Linked DNA regions of Homo sapiens: region 1 is linked to region 2. Evidence: promoter capture Hi-C in 16 types of primary human blood cells and fetal thymus (Javierre and others, 2016). All regions are on one chromosome and are shown on one strand. The core of a region is centred on a gene start or on the middle of the fragment in contact, and the rest is flanking DNA. Distances in the headings are between cores, read along the strand shown.

Region 1 (6,861 bases), core at 2,816-5,315, 260 kb after region 2:
GTAGAGGTGTCTAGGAGAGCTGCAGCTATTTCTACAGGAATAGATAGCTCTGGGATTTATTTCTATTAGGGTAACCCAAAAATATGCTGAAGGTTTCATTGTTTTTAATCCTTCTCCTTAGGACCCTATTCTAGAGGGGATTTATTTCTTTATCTGAAACGAGGGGATGTTAGTGTGTGTATATGTGTGTGTGTTTGCATCATTTATTATTCCTTAAGCAAAATATCCAAGGCACTGCTGCGAATGCTAAAAGTAGGAGAAGTGATTTGTGCATGGCTAATTGGCACAGGAGATAGAAGAGAGCAAGTGCCTCAGAGGAGGAACTGGTACTTTTATTGTGACTATTGAAAGGAAGGAGAGGGCTGTGGATTGCTGTTGGAGAATGAGGAGATTTTTGGAAGAAGTGCTGTTTGAGCTGGGCTCTCAGGGAGCATCAATATTTGCAGACAGCAGTGTTTTGAGACCATGTGTCTGCAACAGTCAGGTGTAGAGGCAGCAGGGTGTGGTTGGGAGTTGAATTGGGATGCCTTGTTGGGTGTATGACATGGGGATGACAATTGGAGATGAGGCTGAAAAGATAGAATACAGTAGGGGAGAAAGACCTTAGAGGGGATGAACCTTATTCTATAATTAGGAGGAGGCCTTCAGCGGCTTTTGAGGAGAGTTGATGATGAGAACAGAGCTTAGCTGTAGGAGCTTTTGAGGAGAGTTGATGATGAGAACAGAGCTTAGCTGTAGGAAGAGGATTCTAGTGGCAGAGTACAGAGGATCTCAGAGCTCCTGGACAGTCACTGTAGTCTGTAATTCAGCATGAAATCATTGTAGTTTAGTCAGGAGCACCAAGAGAGCCATGGGTATTTAATATAAATACACAACTCATATTTCAGTGGTTGCTGAGGCACAGAGGAACTAGATTTTGCTTTGGGCAGCTGTACTTGTCTTGACTAAAGCCAGAAACCTCTGATGTATTCTAGACCAGAGGTTGGAACATGGTCATATAGTAAATGTTTTAGACTTTGTAGGCCATATGGTTTCTATGATCTGTGTTACAACTCCTCACTTTGCCCATGGCAGTGCCCATGGGTGAATGAAAGCAGCTCTAGAGGAATGAACGTGGCTGTGATCCAGTAAATCTCTATTTACAAAAATGGCCAACCAGGTTTGGCCACTTCTGTTCTCAACCAGTGCTTCTGAAACTTTAAGGTGCATATGAATCACTTGCAGATTCTGCCTTGGTCACATGCAGATTCTGCCTCAGGAGTTCTGGGGCTCTGCGTTTCCATCAAGCTCCCAAGAGATGTGGATGCTGCTTATCTGCACATTCGCCCTTTGAGCAGCAAGGCTTAGAACAGAGAAGACAGTCATTTCCTTAGAAAGGTGTGTGCTCCCAAGGTAACGACACAGACTCTTTAACAGCAAAAGCACAGGGCTGGCTGATGTTCTTGGTGACTTCAGTTCCATGCTGTTTGCCTTCTGCTCTTTCTTACACACTTTTGCATTATAGTCTAATCTAATCTGAGAGCTTTGTTGGCTCCAGGTAGTCCTCCCCAGACCAGCTTGAGACTGGAGAGGTCCTAATCCCTGAAAAGATCATAGTGCCCTCTCTCTCCCCTCTTCCTATCCCCAATATGTACTTCAAAATAAAATTAAGACTAAGTAAAAAATAGGTAAGAAAGTCTAACAAATCTTTGGGGTTTTTTTTTTTTTCATGACATTTAGGCTTAAAAACAAATAACATTAAAATTTTCTCTCTTGCCCTACATTTCCCCAACCCTCACCAAAAAAAAAAAAAAAAAAAAAAAAAAAATCACACACACAAGAAAAGAAATGGAGCTTGGTGTGCCCTCCTGGGTAAACTGGCCTGGGACCTGCTGGTCTACCATGCCCACCCCATCTGCCTTGCTGGAACCTGCTGTATGCTCACCCTGCTTGTATGTGGAGTGTTTTTATTGTAGACCAGTAAAACCACCTGCTCTGCCCCTTGTGGAGTTGGGTTGCAGGCCAAATGAGATCGTGGGGTGATGACCCTCTGAAATGGTAAGGGGTATATGGATGTCAGCTGTTCCCCGCTCCACCCCTCCCAATTGTTTCTCTGCTTGCTGTAGCTGCTGGAAGGCAGCCAGCCCAACTATATGGCTCTTGGAGATGTTTGATGGCATTGGACTATGGCACTGAGAAGGAAAATGGTCCCAAGATGGACGTCAGGAAATGAGATGAGAATGAGCAAGCTTATAGTATCTTTCCATTAGTTCAGGTACTGGTTGACAACTGTGTTTGAACACCAGGTTATTTCTGATAGTCCTTTTAGACCACACTGGGAAGCCCAGCTATTGGCCCATGTTTCCTGATTTCCATGGTAGATTCTTTTATGTTCTTATATTTCTCGACATTGCCAAGTCATACAGCTTTCACATTCTTGACTGCAACCCCTAGTAAATAATACATTTTCTCTTATGACCCTGTACTTACATATGTACGTGTAGATACATACACACATATAATTAAAACACAAGTTTTAGGAGACAACATTGACTTTTAAATGTATGATGGGGCCTTTTGCAATCTTTTGCACTTTTTTGGGAGGGGAAGAATCTAGTCTTGGGCCTCCCAAGTACTCTCAGAGTCCACTAGGTCATGACCTATGGTCAAAGAAAGCTGCCCAGGAAGAGTGCTTTGCTATTGGAGGCAAATAAGTAATTAGCTAATGCTTTATCTGGTTCCTAAAAAGATTTAAAGTGGCCGTTCAGTAATAACGAACTGAGGTAATGAAAGAGGCACATTTGATACAGTGACAAAACTGCTGCCTTTTGAACAATTCTTACAAACTATTAAATGTGGATTATGATATAATGCACACAAATCACTCTCTGTGTATCTGTTAATACTTTTTGTGTCAGAAATGTTTAATGAATATTTGGAGTTTTTCTTTTTGTTTTTTGTTTTTCTGAGACAGAGTCTCACTCTGTCACCCATGCTGGAGTGCAGTGGTGCAATCTTGGCTCACTGCAACCTCTGCCTCCCAAGTTCAAGCCATTCTCTTGCCTCAGCCTCCAGAGTAGCTGGGATTACAGGTGCGTGCCACCATGCCCAACTGATTTTTGTATTTTTAGTAGAGACGGGGTTTTGCCATGTTGCCCAGGCTGGTCTAGAACTCCTGACCTCAAGTGAGCCACCCGCCTCAGCCTCCCAAAATGCTGGGATTACAGGCGTGAGCTACCATGCCGGACCTAAATATTTGTTGAATTGAATAGAGCAAATAAATGTGTTCTGGTAGAGCACATGAACGTGGAATATATGTTCTGTTCTATAATTCTTTGAATATATTCTGTAATTCATTGAATTATAGAATTTACAGGTTTGGAAGGGCCTTAGAACATTCATAGTACAGTCACCTCGTTTTAGAATCGTCTTCGACTGAGGCCTCCTGCTTCCTACTCCAGGATGCTGCCCTTCAAGCTGGGAGGTTTGGCAGATGTGACTCCAGATCACAAGAGGTCTCATGAACCTAACTACTGTATCTCAAAGTACAGGGTGACTTAGCTAGTATGTGGATATACTCTTAAATAACATTGAACCCCTAGTCAAATTTTTTCTTTTTTTCTGAGACAGGGGCTTGCTCTGTTGCCCAGGCTGGAGTGCAGTGGCGCAATCACGGCTCACTACAGCCTTGACCTCCTGGGCTCAAATGATTCTCCCACCTCAGCCTCCCAAGTAGCTGGGACCACAGGTGTGCAGCACCATACCTGGCTATTTTTTTTTATTCTTTTTTGTAGAGACAGGGTCTTACCATGTTGCCCATGTTGGTCTGGAGCTCCTGGGCTTAAACAATATGTCTGCCTTGGCCTCCCAAAGTGTTGGGATTACAGGCGTGAACCACCATGCCCGGCCCCAAATAATTTTTTAAAAAGGTTATTCTTTTAAAATTCCTCTTTTACTTCTTCAGATTCTGTCAAAAAGAACGTCTCATTGGTTGCTAGTAACTGTAACATTTGCCTAATCCCTTTTAACAGAGAGGGCAGGTCCAGAGTCTTAAATTGGGAACTGGATCTGGCTAAAATTTAATACTGTTTTGATTTGGCATGATGATTTTTTTTTTTTTTGGTCTATTTATGGCATGTGATTGTGTTTTTCCAACTGTGGTTCTGATATAAATCTTCTTTTGAAGATGTATTTTATATAAAAAGTAAATATTCTTTAAAGGGACATGTTAAATAACTTATAATAAAAGTGAAAAGTAGTAAGGTAAAGTCAGCAGAATTGGTACAGGAATGCCTGAAATGTATAAAACCGTGGCCTTAACAAAGCCCAATTGCCTTTTTAGTGACTTCGGTTTCAAGATGAGTGAAGATTTGTCATTAGAGGTTTGTGTTCCAGATCCGGAATTTTCTGGAAAGTCATACTCCCCTCCTGTGCCTTGCCCTGTGGGTTCTACTTACAGGAGAACGAGAGGGTATGTATCACAGAGGTTGCCCTGTCAGGTTCTCAGCGGTCCGCACATGGAGCGAGAGAGCATAGAGGACCGTCTGGATTGCTCTACACTCGAAATTCTAGAATTCCAAGTTAACAGCCTGCAAGTAGTTTGGGCAACATTATAAATTATGGTATTTGTAAACTCTCCTACCTCCACATTGCAAGTCTGTAAGCATCCCTGAAACTCTAGGAATATCTTAAGTCATCAACTTCAGCAGGGAAACATCTTCAGAGGAATGTATTCAAGAGATATATTTAAAAATCTTGGCCAGGACAGTGCCCTAAATTGTCTGGGCCTGCCTAGTCTAATTATAAGGAGAACTGACTCAGAACTACGAACATCCTCTTTCTAGTTCTAAAGAGAAATGAGTGGATGGACTCTACTGGCCGTGGGTAGTAAGTGTATTCCCAGCTGGGATGCCTTTGTGGCTATTCTTCCATGTTTCTGACCTCTTGCTCTTGGGGTGGGGTGACAGCTACCGGAAGATTTCTGGGGACACTTGTAGCGGAGGAGATGTTGAAGCGCGACTGGAAGGAGAGCTGGTCCCCTGTCCCCTGGCAGGTAAGAGAGGTGGTTTCTTCCCTTTCATTTCTTGAGACATGGTTGAAGCAGTATCACGATCTCACCCAAGTCCGGGCTTGTGGCTCCTTTAATTGAGTGGAGAAAAACAATGGCCGTCACAAGCATCACAGGGCTTCCTCTTTTCCCTAAGGTTGGTTTCCACACTGAACTTGTACATAGCCATACCCGTTTTTAGGAATGGAAAGTACTTTGTGTCAGCTCAGTTTCTTTGAGGGAAATCCCTTTGTTAATTGAAAAATATTTATTCAGCATCCACTGGGGTAGAAAGATCCCCACAGGCTTTTGTGTGTTCCTTAATCTGTTTGTCAAAGTTGAGTATAAAGAGGTGTGTGACTTCTTAGGAAGTAGCTAAGTAGTCTATGTTAATTTTATAATAAAACTAACTGTAACTAAAATTTTAATGGAATTTTATAGATTTCAGTGTACTTTTTATGTGTTGCCAGTTTAACCCTTTTAACAACTCAGGGAAGCAGATATTATCAATTTTGTTTTTTACTTTTTCACGAGGAAGCATGTTCAGAGGAGGTTAAATGGCTTAAGGTCACACATCTAGTAAGTGACAAAGTTGAAATTCAGACTCTAAGCCCCATGCTCTTCATTGGACATTGCCCAAATGGCAAATAAATATCATTCTCACTATTTTAGATAATCATTATGCATGCTAATTAAGAAAAACTTCTCTGAAATGATTCACATGCTATAAAGGTATAGTGTGTTCTAAAACACGTTTCTGCTAGATTTAGTGGTGATGTAACATGGGGTCTTTACCACAGAGACATGAAATTATGATACTTTGAAAAATAATCTCTTAGTTGCTTTTCTTCACTCTGTTTCCAGTTCTTATTCATTTAAAGCTTCTTTATTCCCTCTGTGCCCTCTTTCCTGCCCATTACCTCTTGGTGAAGGTAAATGGCTGGAGTTAACTTCCGTCTGTGGTGGGTGGTGGTGTCTTACGTGGACAGCCATAAGCACCGAATGAATCATGAAAGAAGTGTGTGGTCTCCACAGGCAGGGCAGGGCAGCCCTCTCTTTTGCTCACTGCCGCCAGCTTGCCCTGGTGTTTTTCATGCTAAGTTCGTTAGTCCCTTAATTTAATCTTTCATCATTACCAGAGTAATTAACATACCTCACTATGGAGGCTTGAAAAGAACCACCACTTCAGCAAATTCCAACAAATGAGCAGATAATATTCAAATATTTCCCTCACAAGAGCTGTTATTGATGAGGGCGTGGGTTAGTAGGGTTTGAGTGATTGCTCTTGAGGGGCTGGAGTGCCTACTTTTGTAATAAATATTTCTGAAGATAATTCAGCAAGGGACAAAACAGTTTGTTTAAAGCCATCTAAACTGGCAGGAAAGCTATTTTCTCTTCTACTGGAAGATAGAACAGGGAACGAAGTGGAGAAATCTCATTCCATTGTGGGCCACCTCCTATGTAAAAGAGAGAAAAAAAAAGGCATGGAATAGGAGGCAGGGATATACCAGGAAAGAAAAAGATGCTTTCACAGGACTAATGGGGGCCGTAATATCTTTGCAAAGATGAGGTAATCTGGGCATCTGGAAGGATTTTTTAAATGCAAGAATTTTTCTTCCTTTACAATTACTATGAAAACACACATTCCTTGGCCAGGACCAGCCAAGAATTCCATTCCTTTTCCAGGTTAAGCATTGCGCGCTGGAATGCCGCATGCTGCTCTGAACATAATCCTAAAACACGTATTTCTGGATTCAGGTTCTACTTTATGGGTATTAGTTTCTTAGAGGAAAAAAAAGCCCAGAGTGACAGAATGAGGTTTATAGATGCTGGAG
Region 2 (6,674 bases), core at 2,577-5,076:
GCCAGTGTTTGTTTAGCTGCTAGAGAAAAAGAAAAATCTTGTGACAGTTAGAACATAGTTTATTCTTTACGTGTAGGGTACATGACTTAACCCTCGCCTGGCACGACCTTAGGTCCTATTTATAATTTGGTATTGTATCGCCACAAAGAATCTGTTCTGCCAGTTTTATGATTTCTGTTTTAACATCAATGCCGGTCAGTCGTGTCTAAAAAGGGAGGGGGTATAATGAGGCCTGTCTGACCTCATCTCATCATGGCTGGGAACTAAGTTTTTAAGGCTTTTCTGGAATCCCTTTGGCCAAGAGGTGGTCTGTTCAGTCTGCTGGGGGGTTTAAGATTTTATTTGTAGTTTAAAGTATCATACTATAAATTAAAATAGAATCCATGGGGCCAGGTTAAGGAATAAACACTTTCTCTTCCTGTAATCTACTTTTGGACACTTGTGCATCCACCTTTTTCATGAAGATTCTCTTCTCCCTAAAAAATAAATTCATGCAAACAGATGCTTGTGAGCCAGTGGCCCAACGAGTTCATCAGAAACATTCACTCTAAATAGCTTGGTGCCTAGTGTTCTTAGTACAGTCCAGTGTGATGTAATGAAGAGAGGTTGATACATTACTGATGCATTCAGTGACAACATTTCATTAAGAAGGCTGTTCTGTTTTACACATCTGAAAACCAGTTAGAAAGTGACATGATTTGGATGTTTCCTCCCCTCCAAATCACGTGGTGAAATGCGACCTCCAATGTTGGAGGTGGACTGAGTGGGAGGTGTTTGGGTGTTGGGGGCAGATCCCTCATGAATGTCCTGGTGCTGTCCTCACAGTAAAGTGAGTTCTCACTCTATGAGTTCACATGAGATCTGGCTGTTTAAAAGAGCCTGAGTTTAAAAGAGAGAGCCTCCTCCCTCTCTCTTGCTCCCTCTCTTCATGCGATAGGCCTGCTCCCCCTTTGCCTTCCACCAGGATTGTAAGCTTCCTGAGGTCCTCTCACCAGAACCAGATACCAGCACCACACTTCCTGTACAGCCTGCAAAACTGTGAGCCAAAATAAACCTCTTTTCTTTGTAAATTACCCAGTATCAGGTATTCCTTTATAGCAATGCAAACGGACGAATGCAGAAAGAAAGGGTCTTCATTTCCTAACTTCAGAAACTACAGTCTTTGTAGTTTCCTTTGTAGTACCTTTGTAAAGACAAAGGTCTTTAAACAGTTTAGTGCTTAGTGTTCTCATTAAAGTATAATGTTATATAATGAACGTGGGCTGATAAATTATTGATGCATTGAAAGGCAACATTTCATTGAAAAAAATTCAAACTCAATCTCAGTTTAGAATCTTCCAAGTGAATGAGGACTTCTAACTCTGTTCAGGTCAAATGTAGCCCTCTCAGAGAAACTGACTGACCATGCTGTCTGAAGTTAACAGCTTCCGTTAATTTTGATTCTCTTACCCCATTTTCTTTTTCTTCATAGCACTGTCCGACATTGTATTATATATCTATTTATTTATTATCAGTTTTCTGTCTCCTTACTAGTGTGTAAGCTTCATTAGAGCAGACTTTGTTTTGATTATCAGTATATCTCCTGTGCATATGACAGTGCCTGACACTTATCACCATTACATAATGATTTATTGAGTAAATAAATTGAGTAATTTAATGATTAAATGGTTTGTTTCCATGTTCATGTTCCATCCAGACACATAGGCAGGTATTGTGGCTTATCTCTGAATTCCTTGGTACTGGCTGGTTGGTACCATAGACCCTTGCAAACAATGAATAAATAAATTACCCTGATCCATCAGTGTGCCTGGATAGAAAAGACATGTAGGAATGCTGCACCCCAGGATGTGCTATTAATACACTTATACACCACGGAATACTATGCAGCCATAAAAAAAAGAATGAGTTCATGTCTTTTGCAGGGACATGGATGAAGCCGGAAGCCATCATTCTCAGCAAAATAACACAGAACAAAAAACCAAACACCACATATTCTCATTGAGTATGTGGGAGTTGTTCAACTGTGGGAGTTGAACAATGAGAACACATGGACACAGGGAGGGAAACATCACACACCGGGGCCTGTCAGGGGGTGGAGGGCAAGGGGAGGGAGAACATTAGGACAAATAACTAATGCATGCAGGGCTTAAAACCTAGATGACGGGTTGGAAGGTGCAGCAAGCCACCATGGCACATGTATACCTATGTAACAAACCTGCACGTTCTGCACATGTATCCCAGAACTTAAATAATAATTAAAAAATACACTTAAATTTATTTTTAAACAAGATTGTTCTCTTGAGGTTAACTTATTACTACTTTGAGTTGTCAGGAGTGATTGCAAATTTCTTGGGAATCCCTAAGTCACCAAGAATAAAGACCACTTGTAATAGCTAAGGCATATTCAACAATAAAATTCTAGAGATTCAGGATATTTGATGTTTGCTTATAACATTTCACTTTTGAGCTTTTATTCGTTTAATAAATGTTTTATCATCTATGCTCAATAACATTTTAAAGTGTCCATTCAAATCATTTCATTGGGCAAAACAATGTTCCTTCCCTAATTTCCCTCATCAGAATAGCCATTTTGTCTCTGTGCTCAGCCTATACCACCAATTACTGTTTATTTCCTGTCCTTGTAATAAGCAACATAGTTATTTATACATGCCCATTTCTCCCACAGCACATAAGCTTTTTAAGGTTGGGAACCATGTCTTTGTCATTATTGTAACATCTCTTTCCATTCCCGGTGTTCAGTACGATGTGTTAAACGAAGTAGACACTCAAAACTTTTTAAAATTTATTTTTATTTATATAATGAGTCTTTTTTAAAAAAACCACCTACACTATTTTAAATTCATTTGAACTTTGTCCAGTATCCTATGTACATTTGAAGTTTAACTACCGGAAAAGTCTTTTGAAGGCAGATCGAATCATGTTATTTTTTTCCCTTAAAAATCCCTCATTTCTGTCATGTATTCCCCATATTATTTATGTAATAGGTAAAGTGGCCCAGTTTGCCACTTTGAAGTTGCTGAGCTGGTATCACAAGTCAGTCCCCTCTGTTTTAATCTCTGTTTAAGGAAAGTCACTCTGAAACGACAGATCTTTTGGTTCCTTATTTCTGCTTTCCTCCGTCCTCTTCTGCCTGTGAAGCCACCCTCCTCTGCTCAGCTCTGTTTCAGGAAATCGGAGCTGCTCGATTCATGTGTAGCAAATCAAAGCCAATTAGATCTGCGTTAACCTTGGTTTTCAACAACTTGTATCGTGAAAAGGTTTCTGTCCATGTTTACCCTCATCTTGTCACCATTTAGACCCCTACATACACCGGCTCGCGGAGCCTCCAGCCATTCAGCGCTAGAAAATCGGGGGGACTACGTCTTAAAACCTTGAGCACCTGTTTGGGAACATCTGCACCTCCTCCCTTGAGGGAGAAAACGACCCAGACATTCGCGTCAAAGGAAGTGTCGTCTATTTCCCTCAACGCAGGGCACCCGTTCTAGGAATGTTTGTATAAACACCGTAAACCTGCCTGGTACCACCATGAATGACACAAGAGCTAGTTTAAAAAGAAAGCAAAGAAACAAACGCAAAACCCGAAACCGCATCCTCCACCGCAAAGGTACTCGGATGGGGCGCCCGCCCTCCCCTTAGTCAGAGGACAAAGGGGGCGTGGCCGAGCGCGCGGCGCCCACGTGACCGCGGAGAGCTGCGCGCAGGCCCTTCGCGCGATCTGCCGTCATATCAGCTTATGGCGCCGGTCGCTGATTGGCTGGCCGCTCCAGCCTCCCGGCCCGCTTGCTGGCTGCCCAGCTGCTAGGACAGTTTGCAGAGCAGTGGCGTGCGGAGCGGCGGCGGACCACCTCCAGGTGGGGACGGTGGGTGGGCGGGGAAGGAAGCGGAATACACCTGAGCGGGCTGGGCCGGGGGGCGATGGAATAAAAGAAGATGGAGAGACTTCAGCGCCTGGGACTCGGGTGGGCGAGGCGGAAGGTGTCCTCGCAGCACGGCTTTTCTCCGCGCCGCGGTTGGTTAGCGAGTGCCCTCTGGGTGCTAGGCGTTGGGCGGATGGTAGGATCGCGGTAGCATACGGATCCGAGTCCTGCGCCGAGTGAGAGGAGAGGCTGGCAGGTAGCCTGGCATCCCGAAGACTGGCGGCGAGGGCTGGGCCGGGGGACCTCGGGGCCTGGAGGGCTGCGCCACCTGGGAGTCCGGGCGGAGGGGCCTTCCGCTCGCGCTGGGAGGGATCGCGGGGCCGATAGGGAGGCCTGGACTTGAAGGAGCCGACCGTGGACGGGCTTAAAGAAAATGCAGTGTTTGATGTTGGGTGTTGCAGATCTCTTACTCAAGGGAATTCTGGTCTGGCTGCTGAACACGAATGCTTTACTTTTCCCTTCGTTCTGGGAGGGTTTTTTTCTTTTAAAGGCCAGAAGAATCAGGCTGAAGAACTGGTCGGTATCAGAACTCCTGACCATTGCAAGCCTCTGTTGCTGCGGCGTAATTAGAATGAAGGGACAGCAATCTGGGGCTGAGGAGACTGAAAGGAAAAGGGAAATAATCTGTTCCTTTTGCATCATAAAAGGAAAAATAATGTATACTGACATCCCTGTGTTACAGCAGAGTAGATTTGGAGGTGGTGTAAGTGAAGAAAACAAGACCTCAGTACATAGAGTTTCCAAACTGGAAAGTTTGTGGCAGCTCGGTACTTTTAGAGGAAACCCTCTGGAAGTTATTTGTCTTTATATCACTATCATTTTTTAAAGTTTCTAATGATTGATACCTAGTAAATAATAACTGATCCTTGATCATTTACAGAGTGCTTTTCCATTCGTTATGTAATGTAATTAATTAGCATGGGGTGGTACTCAGAATCCCTCATCTGCATATAAAACATCTTGAGAGATAACATAACGTGGTAGCAAAGAGAAAGGTTGTGGAATGTACATCCCAGCTGGTTTTTTCTGTTATTGTTGCTTGCTACTGAACAAGTTATTTAAATACTCTGACCTCAGTTTCCCTATCTATAAAGTGGGGAGCATAGAAGTACCTATCTCATAGAGGTATAGGGATTAGATGAGGTTATACAAAAATAATACCTGGTTCTCAATAAATATTAGCTATCATTTTCTATACTTTTAAAGTAGGGCAAAAAGATAATGGTAGACTGAGTTGTTCTAAGCCTAATATTGTTATTATAACTGAGTTTTAAGAAGAAGTTTCTTTAATTCTGCAAGGACAAAGTATTTAAGTTTCTGTTTGAAGCAGTGGTACTTAATTTAGGGTCCTTGGGACCCCTAACTTCAGGGCTTATAACCCCTTAAAATTATATGAGCTTGTAGAGGCACTGAACATTTTTAAAAATTCAGGAGTTGACGACTTGAAGTAGTGGTGAAGAGGCTATAGAACTTGGCAGAAGTTCACGTACTTTGCAACTAGATTGTGTGTATTTGAATCCTAGCTCCAGCATTTATTTACTCTTATGACCCTATGCAAGTTACTTAAAATTTCTGTGCCCAGCTTCTTCATCTATAAAATAATACTAGTACCTACCTTTGAGGCTTCTTGAAAGGGAAAATTAGTTAATATATTTAAAATATTTATATTACCTAGTATATATTAAATATTACTATCAACTACTGTCAGTTATTTTTCAAACAAAAATCAAGTGGCACCTATTTTATCTTCTATTGAAGTAATTTTGACGCATTTTTGACGGCCTTAACAGTGATAATCATATAGATGCTATTTTATTGAGTACCTTTCTTGGGTCAAATGTCAAAAGTCTACTTAGTCTCTAAACCTCACAGCAATCAAACATGTTTGTGTTCTTTTTGGTTGCACGATACTATTCTAGGTATTGTATTGAAGTAGGGCCACATGGCACTGTGGGGAACATGTAGATTGGCTCATCAGCTGTTACCAACCTTTAGTGATATAGCAATATCCTTTTCAATTATTAAATGTTTATGTTATCTGATATTACGTAGTACCCTGTCCCTGCTACACCACCTCCCTTGGCAGTCTTCACCCCTATAACTTCAACTACTACCTGTATACTAACCAGGCTCGCTTTTGAACTTCACATTTATATTTACATGTGGCCTATTGCTTATATCTAAGATAGAAGATGAGCCACAGATAATTAGGTTTTAAGATCTACATTGAACCCGTTTTGAACCCCAGATATCTGAGACAGGTCTCAGTCAATTTAGGAAGTTTATTTTGCCAAGGTTAAGGATTCACCCGTGACACAGCCTCAGGAAGCCCTGACAATATGTGCCCAAGGTGGTCGGGGACACAGTTTGCTTTTATACATTTTAGGGAGACATGAGACATCAATCAATATGTGTAAGAAGTACATTGGTTGGGTCTGGTAAGGCGGGACAACTCACAGTGGGGGCTTCCAGGTTAGAAGCAGATAAGAGACAAAGGTTGCATTATTTTGAGTCCTTGATTAGCCTTCCACTGAATGCACACATTTCGTCTGGCTCAGTGAATCTGCATGTTTACATAAACAATAGGGCAGAGGAAGCAATCAGAAATCCATTTGTGTCAGGTGAGCCTCAGAGGGATGACTTTGAGTCCTGTCTGTCCTTTATCCACAAAGGAATTTTCTGAGGGCAAATTGTGAGGGAGGGATGTAGCTTCTCATCCTTGTAGCTGTCTTATTT

The links. The method cuts DNA at HindIII sites, captures the fragments that hold promoters and counts their contacts. A CHiCAGO score of 5 or more calls a contact.
Region 1: a contact is called between a fragment that was not itself captured here and the fragment with the promoter of SC5D in region 2, in 9 of 17 cell types (non-activated CD4 T cells, neutrophils, activated CD4 T cells and 6 more). The highest score is 13.1, in non-activated CD4 T cells.

What each region holds. Positions count from the first base shown.
Region 1 is chr11:121,545,639-121,552,499 of GRCh38, forward strand. It overlaps SORL1 (sortilin related receptor 1), which reads left to right. Exons shown (of 48, transcript NM_003105.6): 15 at 4,322-4,450; 16 at 4,947-5,032. Among named protein-coding and RNA genes, the nearest start is that of SORL1-AS1, 96 kb to the left of the region's middle. RefSeq lists an enhancer at 5,374-6,573. The HindIII fragment of the contact is 3,679 bases long and covers 2,227-5,905 here.
Region 2 is chr11:121,288,945-121,295,618 of GRCh38, forward strand. It overlaps SC5D (sterol-C5-desaturase), which reads left to right and starts at 3,827. Exons shown (of 5, transcript NM_006918.5): 1 at 3,827-3,872. RefSeq lists enhancers at 3,569-3,618, 6,332-6,674 and a silencer at 3,789-3,838. The HindIII fragment of the contact is 7,130 bases long and covers 2,693-6,674 here.